Regions from separate parts of the Homo sapiens genome. Here region 2 is linked to region 1. Evidence: promoter capture Hi-C in human tissues and cell types (Jung and others, 2019). All regions are on one chromosome and are shown on one strand. Each heading gives the region's core, a stretch centred on a gene start or on the middle of the fragment in contact. The rest is flanking DNA. Distances are from core to core; before and after follow the strand shown.

Evidence for each region. The method cuts DNA at HindIII sites, captures the fragments that hold promoters and counts their contacts. A contact is called where the count stands out against the background at its distance.
Region 2: a contact is called between a fragment that was not itself captured here and the fragment with the promoter of RPS12 in region 1, in 1 of the 25 tissues and cell types used here (dorsolateral prefrontal cortex).

Annotation. Positions count from the first base shown.
Region 1 is chr6:132,811,164-132,818,752 of GRCh38, forward strand. It overlaps RPS12 (ribosomal protein S12), which reads left to right and starts at 3,406. Exons shown (of 6, transcript NM_001016.4): 1 at 3,406-3,450; 2 at 3,569-3,619; 3 at 3,809-3,925; 4 at 5,298-5,400; 5 at 5,797-5,898; 6 at 6,317-6,401. The coding sequence starts at 3,606. The coding sequence ends at 6,379. It overlaps SNORD101 (small nucleolar RNA, C/D box 101), which reads left to right and starts at 4,144; the gene lies at 4,144-4,216. It overlaps LOC107986644 (a long non-coding RNA gene), which reads right to left and starts at 3,125. Exons shown (of 3, transcript XR_001744345.3): 1 at 2,130-3,125. SNORD100 (small nucleolar RNA, C/D box 100) reads left to right here and starts at 5,639; the gene lies at 5,639-5,714. It also overlaps SNORA33. RefSeq lists enhancers at 1,872-1,941, 2,371-3,117, 3,032-3,311, 3,742-3,871. The HindIII fragment of the contact is 14,605 bases long and covers 1-7,589 here.
Region 2 is chr6:133,454,141-133,461,729 of GRCh38, forward strand. It overlaps EYA4 (EYA transcriptional coactivator and phosphatase 4), which reads left to right. Exons shown (of 20, transcript NM_004100.5): 6 at 2,416-2,508; 7 at 6,974-7,040. It overlaps EYA4-AS2 (EYA4 antisense RNA 2), which reads right to left and starts at 2,465. Exons shown (of 3, transcript NR_199014.1): 1 at 2,394-2,465. The HindIII fragment of the contact is 3,665 bases long and covers 3,515-7,179 here.

The DNA.
Region 1 (7,589 bases), core at 2,156-4,655:
CACACCCTCAGAAGGAACCAACACTCCCAACACCTTGACTTCAGACTTCCAGCCTTCAGCATTATAATAGATTTCTGTTGGTTAAGCCACCCAGTTTGTGGTACTTTGCTATGGCAGCCCTAGCAAACTACACATCTACACTTAGATAATTCAGAAATCCAAATTTCTAAATCCAAATGCAAATTTTTCTGCCTAACAGCAATATTCCCTTCCTCCATCTATATAGTTTTTAGCACAGTGGGATAGAACTAGCTGTACTATTGCCAAACCAGAGACGTAGAGAGTCATTCTTGAATTCTCGGCAATCTCCTTTCCACATTCTGGCAATCATTCAAATGACCGAAGGGTTAGGAGCACAGGCTTTGAAGTCCACTGAGCTTAAATACCAGCTTCCACATTTATTAGCTGTGTGATCTTGGGCTACCTAAGCCTTGGCTTCCTGACCTGTTAAAGTGGGCTAATACCATCACTACCAGATAGGGTCTCCATAACAATAAAGGGGAAAAATGCCTGAAAGAATTTAGCGCTTTATCTGGCATATAGAAAAAGTGAAACAAATTGCCTGTTATTATCAGTATTGTTCCTAAAACAAACTTCAGAATACATTTAGTTTTCATATGTGTGTCAGACTCATATTTGTGCACATGTGTTATACTCTGCTGGTATGAGTGACCAACCACTATCCTCTATGTAGTATTGTCTTCCACCTTTACCAGTCTCTGAAATTGAGAGGAGGTAACCTTAAAAATGTGAACTAGGAGGCTGGGCGCAGTGGCTCACACCTGTAATCCCAGCACTTCGGGAGTCCAAGGTGGGCGGATCAACCAAGGTCAGGTGTTCCAGACTAGCCTGGCCAACATGGTGAAACTCCCATTTCTACTAAAAATACAAAACTTAGCTGGGCATAGTGGTGGGCACCTGTAATTCCAGCTACTTGGGACTGAGGCAGGAGAATCGCTTGAACCTGGGAGGTGGAGGTTGCAGTGAGCCAAGATCCCGACACTGCCTTGGCTACAAGAACAAAACTCCATCTCAAAAAAAAAAAAAAAAAAAAAAAGTGAACTAGGAGAATCTATATTAAAGAACCCCTGTATCACCAGTGTGCCCCCTGACTTCATTTTGGGGGTTAGAACTGGTTATATAAGTAGGACTTATATAAGTAGGTTATATAAGTTATATAAGTAGGTTATATAAGTAGGACTTAAAAAAAAATGTAGCTCCCTCTAAGGAGGGAGGTTTGTGTGAAAAGACATTTTAGTGCAGTGAAACATTAAAGCAGAGATCCACGATGTCTGAGTCAATAGAACAGATTAGCAGCTGCTGAAAGATAGAAACCAAGTCTGAGCTGGTTGGTACTGGGAACAACTGCCTTAGCTAACAAGGCACTTGATCATTTTCCCCCCACATAAATATGCTGTTTGGCAGTGAATGTTTTCACTTAGGTTTCCCAAATTCCCTGCTTCTTCCTTAAAAATTTGTTTGGGGAAGGAATCTAATATGCTTAGCATATCAACTGTACTGTCTTTAGATAATGAGAAATGCGCTGAAAGACTATTTGCCACATTCTCTTTCAAAAATACAAACGTGTTAATTATAACCTCCAAAAAAGGCAAGAAGGATTTCATGCCTTTGCCCCTACACTTTCATCCATTTAGAATACCCTCCTCTCCTTCCATGCTCACCGATTTGGAATCTCTTAGTTTTTGTTTTGAGCCTGTTTCGAATGCTGCCAGAAGCCTGAGGTCCTCTTACCTTTTCACACCATCCCCACTCCCTAACCCCCTGCCACTTTGTATCTCCTCTGTGGCCCTGAGGTATTCTGATTTTTGTCTAAAATCTTAATCCCACCACAAACAAACCAGGGCTACAGGAATGAATCATCTTTATAAATTCCTCGTTTTTTTTTTTTTTTTAAATCAAAAGCTCAATAAACATTTGCATGAGTTACTGACAGAGAAGCAGCTTCAACGCTTTAAAAATGAAACTGAAACCAGCGGAAAATCTAAAACTGAACTCTATCAGTAAACTGAACTCTATCAGTTTATTAACATTACAGCAGGTCTCTGTTCTGGTGAACTCCCTGGTGCTCTTACTGCGTTACCCATTTTTGTTTTTTTCGCTGCACTCACCAGTCTAACAGTATCTGCCCACTGGATTCACAGCGCTGGCACGTGCCAAGCGCCTAATAATTGCTCACTGGTTTGGCGGCTGACTACCCAGGAGAGGAAATTAAACACAAAGGCAGTATTGATCATATTCAGTAGTGTTTCGTGCGTTTGGTTTGGAAGTGGGGATTGGGGAATGGCCAATCACTTCCAAATTTAAAATATTGCTTCCTGGAAGAAAATGGACTCCTCAAAGACTGGATATTTCATGTCTGTAGTCCCAGGACCTGGCCCTGCGTCAGGCACATTGTAGGTGTTGAAAATGCACCTGAGGAATTCTGAGTTGCGCGGAACTGTGTATTCCGAGCACAACGCGTCGTTAAAAACCAAACAAAGCAGAACAAACTTCGTTCAGAAGCGACTCCCGCTATACTTAGAAACTAGAATTGACCCCTGGCTGCAGGGTTCCGCTTTACCAACACACCGCAGGGAAAGGGCTTAGAAATAGTGAAAGCGGCCGGGGGCGGCGGGTCACGCCTCTAATCCCAGCATTTTGGGAGGCCGAGGCGGGTGGATCCCCTGAGGTCAGGAGTTCGAGACCAGCCTGGCCAACATGGTGAAATCCCGTCTTTACTAAAAATACAAAAAATTAGCCAGGGTGGTGGCAGGCGCCTGCAATCCCGGCTACTCGGGAGGCTGAGGCAGGAGAATCGCTTGAAACCGGGAGCCGGAGGTCGCAGTAAGCTGAGATCGCGCCATTGCACTCCAGCCTGGAAGAGTGAAAGCATGTAGGCTCTCGTTTCATGAAGACAAAGATGAGGATCACACCCACAACGACACAAACATGGTCTCTCAGGGTGACTTAGAAGCGAAGGAACAAAGTGCGCTGCCTGGGGAGGCTGGGTCTTGTAGAAGCAACAGGAAAGTAGAACGTGGTGTGGAAAGGGTTAAAACTGGCGCTCGGCGGGATACAGGGCTCTAGGTGCCTTAAAGAACACGCGGACACACTTGTTTGGCTTCTGTCGCGCTCCGTAGAATGAGTTCCCTGGGCCTCGGTGGGCCACGCCTCCGCAAAGAAGGACAACGCGAAGCTGCCCGCGTAGTGCCTGTTGCACTCGCCAAGGACCGGCCTGGCAGAGATAGAAAACTCGCAGTACGTTTGCCTCAGAACCGCCTCAATCCGGAAACAGAAACTCCCCAGGCCCGGCACTGCGGGAGCCACCTCTTTCGAGGGTGGGAGTGCACATGCGCACAGGGGACCTGAAAAACCCTTAAATACCGGCATGCGTGCGGATGAGGCCTCTTTCCCTGCCGCCGCCGAGTCGCGCGGAGGCGGAGGCTTGGGGTAAGTTGAGCGAGGCGGCAGGGGGGTGTATTGGTTATAATTTGTGGCTCGTTGCGTTCTTGCTGGGATTCGTGACGAGTATCTGGTTCTTTAACAAGTCAATGCTTTTGTTTTTTAGTGCGTTCAAGATTCAACTTCACCCGTAACCCACCGCCATGGCCGAGGAAGGGTGAGCCCAGGGGCCGGGGTTGGAGTTGGGGTCGGGGTGCGGCTGAGGCGTGGGGCTAGAGCTGGCGGAACAGGACTGGGTCAAACGGGTCGCCGTAAGCGCGTCTGTTGTACACTTAGCTTTTGCTGAGTGCAAGGCCTTATGTGGTGTGAGGATTTTAACTGATGGTTCTGATGTGTCGCGTTTAAGCATTGCTGCTGGAGGTGTAATGGACGTTAATACTGCTTTACAAGAGGTTCTGAAGACTGCCCTCATCCACGATGGCCTAGCACGTGGAATTCGCGAAGCTGCCAAAGCCTTAGACAAGTACGTGTATCAGTCTCAATACTGTGGGTTCTTGCAACCGGAACAAAACTGCCACCCAAGGGAAGAAGGCATGGAGTTCATGGTGTTAGCGCAAAAGTTCTGAATGGCATCCGTCCTACCGGAAACCTAGGAAAAGGTATCAGAACTCAGATCTATAAAGCCCACTTAAAATGTGTGGGTTGCTGTTTGGAATGGGGATAAGCACTCAAAACTACAGTGTTTGAATGATGACTTTAATTGTCGGATACCCCTTCACTCCTTTTATGAGTGAAACATAAGAGTCTGACAAACCTGTAGGTTGTGGAGCTAGTCAGTCTTATACTTATCTGGCAGATAGATGAGATGGAGAGCCACATTACATCTGGTAGTTTGCAAAACAAGCATTAATTTAATGGAATTTCAAACTCAGGTTTCAGAAGCATTTGGTCCTAGATGAATTTAGTAGTATAATAGCTGTGATTTATTTGAATTTGGGATATTTGTTAATGTATTTGAATGGATCGAGTTAATGTGTTTTTTAGGGTGGTGGCATTGACAAATCAACCTACTCTTGAGCTGAATTTAAATGCAGTTTTAAGGTTTTACAGGACAAGTTCGTTTTGGTGTAATCTAGCCAGTTCAATCCGATGGAAACGGCATTATTGTTTAATGTATTTAGTAGGTCCTAGTATGAGTCTTCTGTATTTCTATTTCGGCATTATTGCATGGCATTTCATAACTGTTCCATTAATGCCACAGTCTTTTTTTTTTCTTTTTTCTTTTTTTTTTTTGAGACAAAGAGTCTTGCTCTGTCCCCCAGGCTGGAGTGCAGTGGCGCGATCTCATTGCAACCTCTACCTACCAGGTTCAAGCGATTCTTCTGCCTCCCGAGTAGATGGAATTACAGGCACACGCCACCATGCCCAGCTAGTTTTTGTACTTTCAGTAGAAACGGGGTTTCGCCATGTTGGTCTCTGGCTGGTCTGGTACTCCTGACCTCGGGTCATCTGCCCCCCTCGTCTTCCCAAAGTGCTGGGATTACAGGAGTGAGCCATCGTGCCCGGCCTTTCACATGTTTCTTTAGGTATATGAAGCTGGCTTACAAGAAAGCTATTATGGTTGGGTTTTGGCCAGAAGTTTTAAAAATGACTTACACCAATTCAGTGTGTCAGGGACAGAGGTTTTACTGAAGACCAGTTGTAGGTTAATTGAAGATGTATATGCTCCCTAGCAGGTTCTTCAGACTCAAGCAATTTTGTACGCATTTATGTGTTCAGTGGATTGGCTGCTTATGTTTCGCAAGTGTTAGTGCAAAGATAACCCTCCTAAAATGCAAGAATGATGGATTTGGATCTGAGTTTTAGCTCCATTTTCATTGTAATTTGAATTTCAGGCGCCAAGCCCATCTTTGTGTGCTTGCATCCAACTGTGATGAGCCTATGTATGTCAAGTTGGTGGAGGCCCTTTGTGCTGAACACCAAATCAACCTAATTAAGGTAAGGCTGCTAAGGATTGTGTTGGGACTAATGTTCAGTGATGCTTGTATATGGGGGTAAATTCTGTGAAGTCTCAAGCTGTTCATTTTGTGCAGGTGTAAACATTACGTGCACCTGATACTGTCGGCCATTTTAAAGATGATTGTAGGTAGAAGCATTTTATACCTGCAGAATTGAATCCTAATTTTGACGTTGGTATACAACAAAGATTAGTAGCAGGCTTGTAGGTGATCTTAGTGCTGTACATGATGACAACTGGCTCCCTCTACTGAACTGCCATGAGGAAACTGCCATGTCACCCTTCTGATTACAGCCACCTTTTGGGTTTCATTTAATTTTGGTAGTGTTAATGTCTATTAATGTGATTTTTTTTTTTTTTAACCTTTCTCCCAATAGGTTGATGACAACAAGAAACTAGGAGAATGGGTAGGCCTTTGTAAAATTGACAGAGAGGGGAAACCCCGTAAAGTGGTTGGTTGCAGTTGTGTAGTAGTTAAGGTAAGTCACCGTTTATTCTAGGGATGAAGGTTATGCTGGGTAATCATATAAAACCTTGTATTGAAATAAGTTGAGGATCTTATAAAAGGAAAAAACTGATTCAACAGGTTTAAAGCATTTTCTGCATTTCAGGAAAAAAATAAAAGCTGTAATTTACAAGCCAGCCAATGAATCTGCTTACCTGATTGTGTTTGTGCAGACATACTTTAAAAACTGGCAATAGTAAAGCCATGTTACGAGCCTTAAGGACATTGAAGTCGTTAAGGTCCCTGAGAATGGCTATAACAAATCTTAGTGATGGGAAACATTTTTATAAGACATAGCTAATTGTTGAAGCTCCACTATAATTGATACTAATAGCTTGGTGAAATTCCTAAATATTAACAAGAAATTGCATGCGTGTTTTGTTTTTTTTAAGGACTATGGCAAGGAGTCTCAGGCCAAGGATGTCATTGAAGAGTATTTCAAATGCAAGAAATGAAGAAATAAATCTTTGGCTCACATTCCTCATGTCTGGCTTTTTATTTGGGGCAGTAAAATAAGGTCCCTGTTAGCAAAGTAAAATGTAATCATCGCAAAGTGATTGCTACAGATTAACTGGAAACTTGCTCTCAAAGTCTTCTCCCCAGCCAATGACTGCATCATGGGGCAATTCAAACCTGGACAGCCTTAGCAAAGATAGGTCTGCCATGCAGTGTTGGTGATGGCCAGGATTACTTAGCTATGGGCATTTATCCCTCACTAGACTAGCCTAGAATTTGGAGAGAGAGGTTGTGTTTTTAATAGATTGCAGTCTATGAAAGGACAGTGAGTAGACTTGCTGGGCAGGTTAGTAGAAAGTACACAGTTGGGCCAGGATCATATCTTGCATGTGGGACAAGTGTTATGATACCCAGGAATGCTTGTGGACATTCGTTTGACTTCTTTGGTTGGAGACGGAGTTTCACTCTTGTTGCCCAGGCTGGAGTGCAATGGCGCAATCTTGGCTCACTGCAACCTCTTTGTCCTGGGTTCGAGCGATTCTCGTGCCTCAGCCTCCCAAGCAGCTAGGATTACAGATGCCTGGCAATTTTTTTGTGTTTTTAGTAGAGATGGGGTTTCACCATATTTGGCCAGGATGGTCTAGAACTTAGACAGCAGGTGATCCACCAGCTTCAGCCTTCCAAAGTGCTGGGATTACAAGTGTGAGCCACCATTCCTGGCCTTTTGTGCAGGAGCGAGAGGGGCTTGAATGCACCCCAGTCCCTAGAAATCGCAGTGAGAGAAGCCATGGCTGGTGTTTGGTGTATTTTAAACTTGGATAAAGGTACCGTTAAAAGAATGTTGTGAGGCCATATACTTGGCCAATCCTGGTTTTGAAGACTATACCAAGGTTTTTCTTTGCGTCTTAAACCTTGATTGAGAATCTCCGAGTAGGGTCTCCCGTACTGGTTGGTTTGGTAGTTATAGCTAAAGCTGGTTGACCTTAGCATGGTAGTGACATTGAGTACCCTCATGGAAAGCAAGGAGCTCTGAGAGATTTTTTCTGAAGTGTGTATAACCTGGAACTGTGTGTTAACATTGAAATTGTCAACCTCATGTACTCTGGCTTTTCTGAGGAAAGTTCACTTTGAATTCTAGTTTCCTTGTATGACCAATCTATGTAGACATTTTTGAGTGCCTGTTGCATATTTTTTGGTGGAGATGGGGTT
Region 2 (7,589 bases), core at 4,097-6,596, 640 kb after region 1:
CCATTCGCAAGTAAAATCTATATTACAATTAGTATAATAAAGCTACTTTTGCAAATATTGTTCGTAGATATAGATATGCATAAATAGGAATTTAGCTGCAAGTAGAAGTCAGAAGCTCTGATAAACTGTTTCTTAGTTTTGCTGAAGGCTTTGGGCCATGACTTTTTGTCATAAATGTTAGAACTCAATTGTAAACATTGCGTGAAATGGAGTAGCCTTGATACCCATCTAGATTATACTCTGCATTATCTTCATACAGACAAAAGGAATTCTTGATTAGCTAGTGCTGCCTGAGAGGCAGTATGGTTTAAGAGTTTGGATTCTGAACACACACTACTTGGTCTCAAATTCTAGCTCTTACAAGCTTTGTGACTGGGGACGTTATTTAACCTTTTTGTGCCTCAGTTTCCTTATCTGAAAAATAAAGATGATGATATTATCTACTGACTGTTGAGAGGAGTAAATCAGTAGGTGTAAAGGACAAGAGAAGTGCCTGGAATGTATCAAGTTCATTTTAAGGGTGTGCTGTTACTGTTACCTAATTTCAAATTTGCTACTTCTTGATGTCTTTTAAAATATCCCATGAGGAAGAAATGGGAAACATGCCTTAGTATCCTATTCCAGTATTTTGCAGTTTTTATTTTCAGTGAAGTATTTTTAATTATTCTATCTAGGAGATAATTGCATTCTCATCATGCTTTGGGCCTTTGAGAAGAGACACTGTCATGAGCATAAGCTATTTTCGTACCTGAAGGCAGCCTGATACGGTGGAAAGATCCTGCATACTAGAGCTAAAAACCTGAGTTCAAATCTTAGCTCTACCGTCTCCTGCACTGGAACTTATGCAGGCTTTTCAGCCCCCCTGAACTTCAGTTTCCTTGTCTATAAAATGGTTATAGTGATTTGTATTAATTAGAGTTGTTTTAAGGATTAGCTAAATGTACATCATCTAGCACGTAGCAAGCTCTCAATAAGTATTAGTTTTATAGTAGTAAATATAAAGGTGATAAAATGATTTTATAATGATAGGTTTAGTTATTGATAAGGTATAACCATAATAGGGATTACTGTGCAAATTACTACTGAAAAGTAATAACCACCAATTCATTATTTATCATTATATAAATAATTAGACTACTCTTCAGATCATTGTTGCTCTTGAAAGATAAGTCAAACTTGAGTTTGCTTTTTTGCTAAGAAAAGTAATCCAAGTTTCTTTACTTTCTGTTTCCAACATTTACATTTCTCCTCTGAATCTTCCAGCTGATCATGTCATTAATAAATAATGGATACTAAATTAACCCAGAGCTCACTGAAGGTCTGGTTAATTCTGTTCATGTGGAAAAGAGCATAATCATTACCGCATGGTTTTCTATCAATTAATTTCTTTTCTAACAGAATAACATTACTGACTTGTGTGATTGGTGGGTACCCTATGACTGACTGTTCTTTTTTGTCCTTTGGCTAGTCTTCAGCTTTCTTCTTTATAATTTTCTGCTTGCTTCTAAGTTATTTAACTGTATCATTCATTTCACTTATGACCAGGAAACACAAGAGGTGTTAAGTAGAAAATAGCTTAGTTTATTTCCTTGCTGCTATGATATATGTAGTAAAGCCTTGCCAACAAAGGGAAAATATGGTGTGACCAAATGGGTAAAACTTTATTCTCACGCCCCATCACCCTTGTTGCATCTAATAATGATAATAATGTGTACTAGGCCACTTTGTTACCAAGCAAAGATTTTGCCAAAATACACCATTACCACGTAGAAATAACATATTAAAATGAGTTTTCAAAAGGTGTACTTGCTGCTGTAGAAGTCATCTCTTTTTCTACGCTTATCTCTAAACATATTAAAAATTGTTATGCCATTAAAGTATGAAGCCCAACACCTTATAGCTCGTGAGTCTTTTTTAGAGCTTCATTGAGTGCTTCATTTTTCATTCATTGTGTGAATGAGCCCATGGTTTCTATACTTTTATATGTCTCCATTGTATTATTATGCAAACTTAAAAAATATCTTCCTGGGAAAAATAAAATATAAGCTAGTAAATTTCTTTGGTATAATTTTAATTAAATGTGCTGAAGACTGATGATGATTCCTTCTTTCCTATTGACTATATGAGAGTGTGTTTAGGTGAATTAAAAATACAAATATGTGTACTGCTGTTTCACTTTTTAAGGCTGACTGCCTTTAAAAGCTGGATTTGAGAGAACTAGCTTGGCCAGAGGATTTTAGATTAAATCCTCTAAATGCATGCCCGTTTAGAAGCTAAATTAACAAACTCTCTTCATCAACTTCTCAGGTTTTCTCTTGCATGCCCATGGTAGCTAGAAATATCACTAGTAGAACGGACAGAGTCTTTGACATAAATTTAGAAGTAAAACTCACATGTACTTATTCTTCTACGTAGTGTCTCTTCTTGCAGTCAAAACAGAGCCCTTGAACAGCAGTGAAACCACAGCCACGACTGGAGATGGAGCGCTTGACACTTTTACTGGGTCAGGTAAAGCCTTTAGCTCGTGTGTCCTTACGTACACATGGGGGTGCATCCACATCCTCCTCCTCGGGAATAAGCAACATAAGCATCCAAGCTCTTAGAACTTTGATCCTTATAAAGTTAGAAACAAATTCTTATTTTTTGAGAACTCATAGTCATAGCAGTATGCATTGTTATAAATTATATTTAGAATAATTTCGCTTGATATTTTAGTTGACAGCAAAAGTCCCATGACTTTCTTATTATGGATAAGTAAACTTAACTTCCTTCAAAATTATTTTATACGATGTTTAATTAATTTAATAATTAAGTTGTAGTAGCTGACCTTGCTTCTTCAACTTACCCATTTGAATTACATAAAAACTGCCTTCTGTTTAACATTCGAGATGTAAAACTATCCATTTGATTCCTTCTAAATAACCTTGTTTCCTCTCTGGGTTTAAAAAACTCCTCCTGTGTAAGCAGCTGAGTGACAAGTATTAAAGGTTAATGGGCTGCAGGAGAGCACATGCTGGTTGCATTAGAACCCAGCCTCTGAGAGCGCTCGAATGCTTCAAAGAGAACAATAGCATGTCTTTAAACATCAATCCCTTTAAAATATAAATACCTGATAACTCCCAGCTGGGCACAAAGGGCATGAATTAAGTAGACTTAATTAAATTTTTTTAAGTTACAATATTTCTTCGGCTTTTTATCTGGTGAAAGGATTTTTCTAACCTGAGGAGGATCGGGTACATCAGAAAGAAGAACATTAAACCTAGGAAAGTATTTGTGGTAATTGAATCTCGGTTCTGTTATTCTACTTTAATACATTTTACATTTATCCATGTGCTCATGTTATAAGGATTTTTTTGTCAGTATGTTTTGTGTAAAAATAGTTGAGATATGTCTTAGAGTATTATGTCATTATAGCATATATTTGATTTTTACAGATGATCTAATTTCACTAGTTCACACCGATTAGAAGCAGTTGCCATATATTTACATAAATATTAGTACTCCAAGAAAGAAATAATAGTACATAAACTTTGCACAGAGACTCATATGTACTAATCCACATCTTTTCTAGCAGTTTACCTGCCTCTCAGGAGATAGTTACCAGTTCAGTATTCTGTATTGCACACTTACCATAGCTTTTGTAAACTTTCTGCAAAATAAATCTATATGAACAAATTGTTAAGGAAAGGAATGGAGTTATTAACTTATTGCTGACCTACTTCAGTAGTATACTACAAGTTAATTGAAAGCTGAATGACAAAACTATAAAGTGTTAGCTCCAGAAGGAATTTCAGAGCTCTCTGATCCGTTTTGTAGACAAGAGAAGTTAAAAGTGGTTAAGGCCATACAGTCAAGGCCTCACAGCTGGTCAGTGGTATAAACAAATCTAAAACCATGTCCTTATGATCAGTCCCTGGGTCCTTTCTGTAATGCCCCATCAGAAAATAGATGGAAAAAGAAATAGGCATGAACAATCATCCTGTCTGAAATTCACTCATATTGTCTTTGTAGATATTTTCGCAAATTTTTAAAGAAGTATCTAGGGACGTGCTGTCCAGTAAGGTAGCCACCAGTCATATGTGGTTATTAAAATTTGATAAAATTAAAAATTTTGTTTTTTATTTTCATTTTCACAGCAATATTGCAGTAAGTATATTTTTATTAATTGATTTTGAAAATCATCAAGTACGACTAGAGGCGTTAAGTTCTCAATATTTTCAGCAACCAAAATTTAACTGAATTTTCAAGTTTAAACACATTTCAAGTGTTTAACAGCTGCATGTGGTTAGCAGCTACCATATTGGACAGCTCAGATACAGAACATTTCCAACACTGTGGAAAGTTTTATTCCACAGCAGTGATCCAGGGCAGGGATTATCAACATCAGCACTGTTAAAGACTTGGGCTAATTCTTTAGTGTGGGAAAGCTATCCTCTGCACTGTAAGATGTTTGGCTGCATCTATCCCAGAATGCCAGCAGCACTCCCCCAGATGCTTCTTTACTAAAGAAGCAACCAAAGATGTCTTACTAAAGACAACCAAAAATGTATCCAGACTGTTTAAGTGTCCCCTGGCAGGCAAAATTCTCACCCCCACCCACTTCTCATCCCATTGAGAGTCACCAATCTAAGATGGCACGATAATGAGAATGAAACCTTAAAATTGCTTTGACACCATCAGAGAAACTGACAATAGATATTAAACATGTATTTAAATTAATTTTCAGGGCATTTTGAAAACAAGCAGTTTTGCTTACTGTTGTATGCAGAAATGATGGAATGTAATGAGTGTTTTGGGTAATGTTTATGATTAATCAGATGACAGTGGGGAATAAAACGAAATTCTTTCAAGTTTGTACAAGATATTCCAGAAACCATTCTGGAAATGAGGCTGCCCTTTGTGGGAGCAGTCTTTACTTTGATCTGCAAAATTTCCACTCACTTTAATCCAATTTTGTTGTTCTTTTCAGTTATCTGCAAATTTCTGAATTAGAACAAAATGTATATATTTTAGTAAAGAAGCATAAACTTTCCTACGTGAACATCGTAGTTTTCTGAGCCAAAGGTTTTCTGTTCTATTTAGAAAATGAACATATAGACGTTAATAGAAATTTGTAAAGGTTAGTTGAGGCTTTATAGTGTTGTGAGTACATTATTCTAATGATGTTTAGATTTATCATTAGAAGAAACATCCTATATATTCAGAATTGAGTTCATGTATATGAGTTTTTTCTGAAATGTGTAATTTTGGTCTATGTCTTATTTATAAAAGGTTACTATAATGAATATTTATCTTCATGATTCAGCGTCTCTTTGGAAAAGCCTTCTATTTCACAATATTGATAATAACTGATGAGTATAGCCCAAGTCTTGAGTGTACCAAGGAGAAATTCTGTAAAGAAGAGACGAAAGAATATTTAATCAAGCGTCATTTAACTATATTTCTGTTAGAGTATTTGGTATTGTTAATCGATAAATTAGAATGAATATCTTTGGAATAACACTACTATTATGAAGTGCACATTTAATGTCCATTGTGTAGTAGAACAAAGAGTCTGTTTTCATTAAGTTGATTTGAAAATTTAAAACGTTCTTTAAGTTTTGATAAATATGTAGAAAAGTAATAGTTTATTGGTCAATTTATTTTCAACGATACGTATCAAATTCAGTTAAATTCTGGTTGCTGAAAATATTTAGAAGTAACACCTTTAGTCAAATTTGATGATTTTCAAAATTGACTGATAATATTCTTAAAAATATACTTACTTCATTATCGCTATGAAAATGAAAATATTCTTTCCATATTCAGAGCTTATAGGCAAAATAGCATTTTAAACACATTAAATGATGCATGTTTGTGAAGCAGATCACAAGGGTTCTTGTGATATATATAGAAATATATCATGTTTCATAAAATAGTTAGCAACCTAAACCTATTTGTCACTTTTACAATTCTAAAAGTTTCGCTCCAGAATTATTATGAACAACTCAGAAAGGACATAGTACTTTGAAGTATAACTATGATTGATTAGACTAAACTAATTCCAGCACTGCATTGTGTACTACTTTAATCTTTTTGAAAAGTGAATGAACAGCAGATGGCCTAATAAAGACACTCTGTGTGCTCGCTCAGTGTGGATTGGCTCTAAGGGAACTGGCTCACACTTTAGAGTCCATATATTTGCAAAACATCTGTCTTAGTCAAGGCAGATAGTTAAAGGAAAGAGAAACTTCCAAGCTATTGGATATATTCCAGTTTGGGGCTCCATGTTTGGATGAACTGTTAATAGGACCTCACTTTCACCTTTAAGTTCTTCTCAGAAAAGTATTATCTCTAATAGTTCAAAGTATATTTGTAAATGTAATTGCTACTGCATTTTGTGATTATGTTTTAAAGAAATCACCTGCACTTTCTTTAATTATTACTGGAATATTTTAGACTGCATTTTTTAATTGTTCATCTGATGGGTAAAATGAGAGGAAATAGAATAAAATAGTATTTTACCATTAGAAAATGAAGTTTGGAACATCACAGTCTTATTTTGTATTGTATTTGAATTAGAACAGATATGGAGGAAGAGCAATATGTATATATTGCCATCATATTTGGTATTTTAAAATGTAAAGTTTGCAAATTTTAAAAATTTACTTTTATATTTTGAAAGCTTAATTACCCTATAATCAAAGATATTTATTCATAGCATATTAATATATAAGAGCATGCTAATGATTTGAGAAACTGGAAGAATGACAGAGGGAATGATTTGTGAGACAAATGTTTATTTCATGCTTTTTGCACAAAACTCAAAGCAGTTTAATTAGGAGAAAGTGTTTAGGCAGCTGTTTCCTTTTAGAAAATGAATTTCTGGAAACATGTATTTAACATGGTAATTTCTTCAAATTGGTTATGTACACTCTAGTGAAATGTATTTATGAAGCAACCTTTGGTGCACTGGTATTTTTGTGTCTTACAGTAATTACAAGTAGTGGCTACAGCCCCAGATCAGCACATCAGTATTCCCCACAGCTGTATCCTTCCAAGTAAGTGGTCAGTAGATTCTTGCTTTAAATTGGCAAACATTTATGTCTATACATGTTTTATAGATGGTTGGATAATACTTGGATAGATTACATATATAGATAAATATCCTGTACAAATTTGAAATGGAGACACCCACATGTATCTTGATGATTCCCTTGAATATTTATGTATACCTTGAGAAAAATATCAAGCTCAAATTAGAATACATTGCATTTTAATTCAAATTCAAAAATGCTGGCTGGTTAAAAAATCTAAAGAGATTACATTTTATCTAAATGTCAACACTTCATAATTAATTCCATCATTGAAATTCTTTTGTTGGATTTCCAGTTCTAATAAACATATTTTTGAAGAATATGCCTTATTGTTTTTATAACTAATATAGTCACTTTATTGAGGACAGTGGTAGATATTTCTTAAGTTTAACTATATTGGGTGTATATCTGAATTGGTTTGGAATCAGCCAGACGTGCCAAGATTTTGTATTGCTGATACATACACATTTAAATATAGTATGTTATTTTCTGCAGCATCTAGAGTGTCTGCCT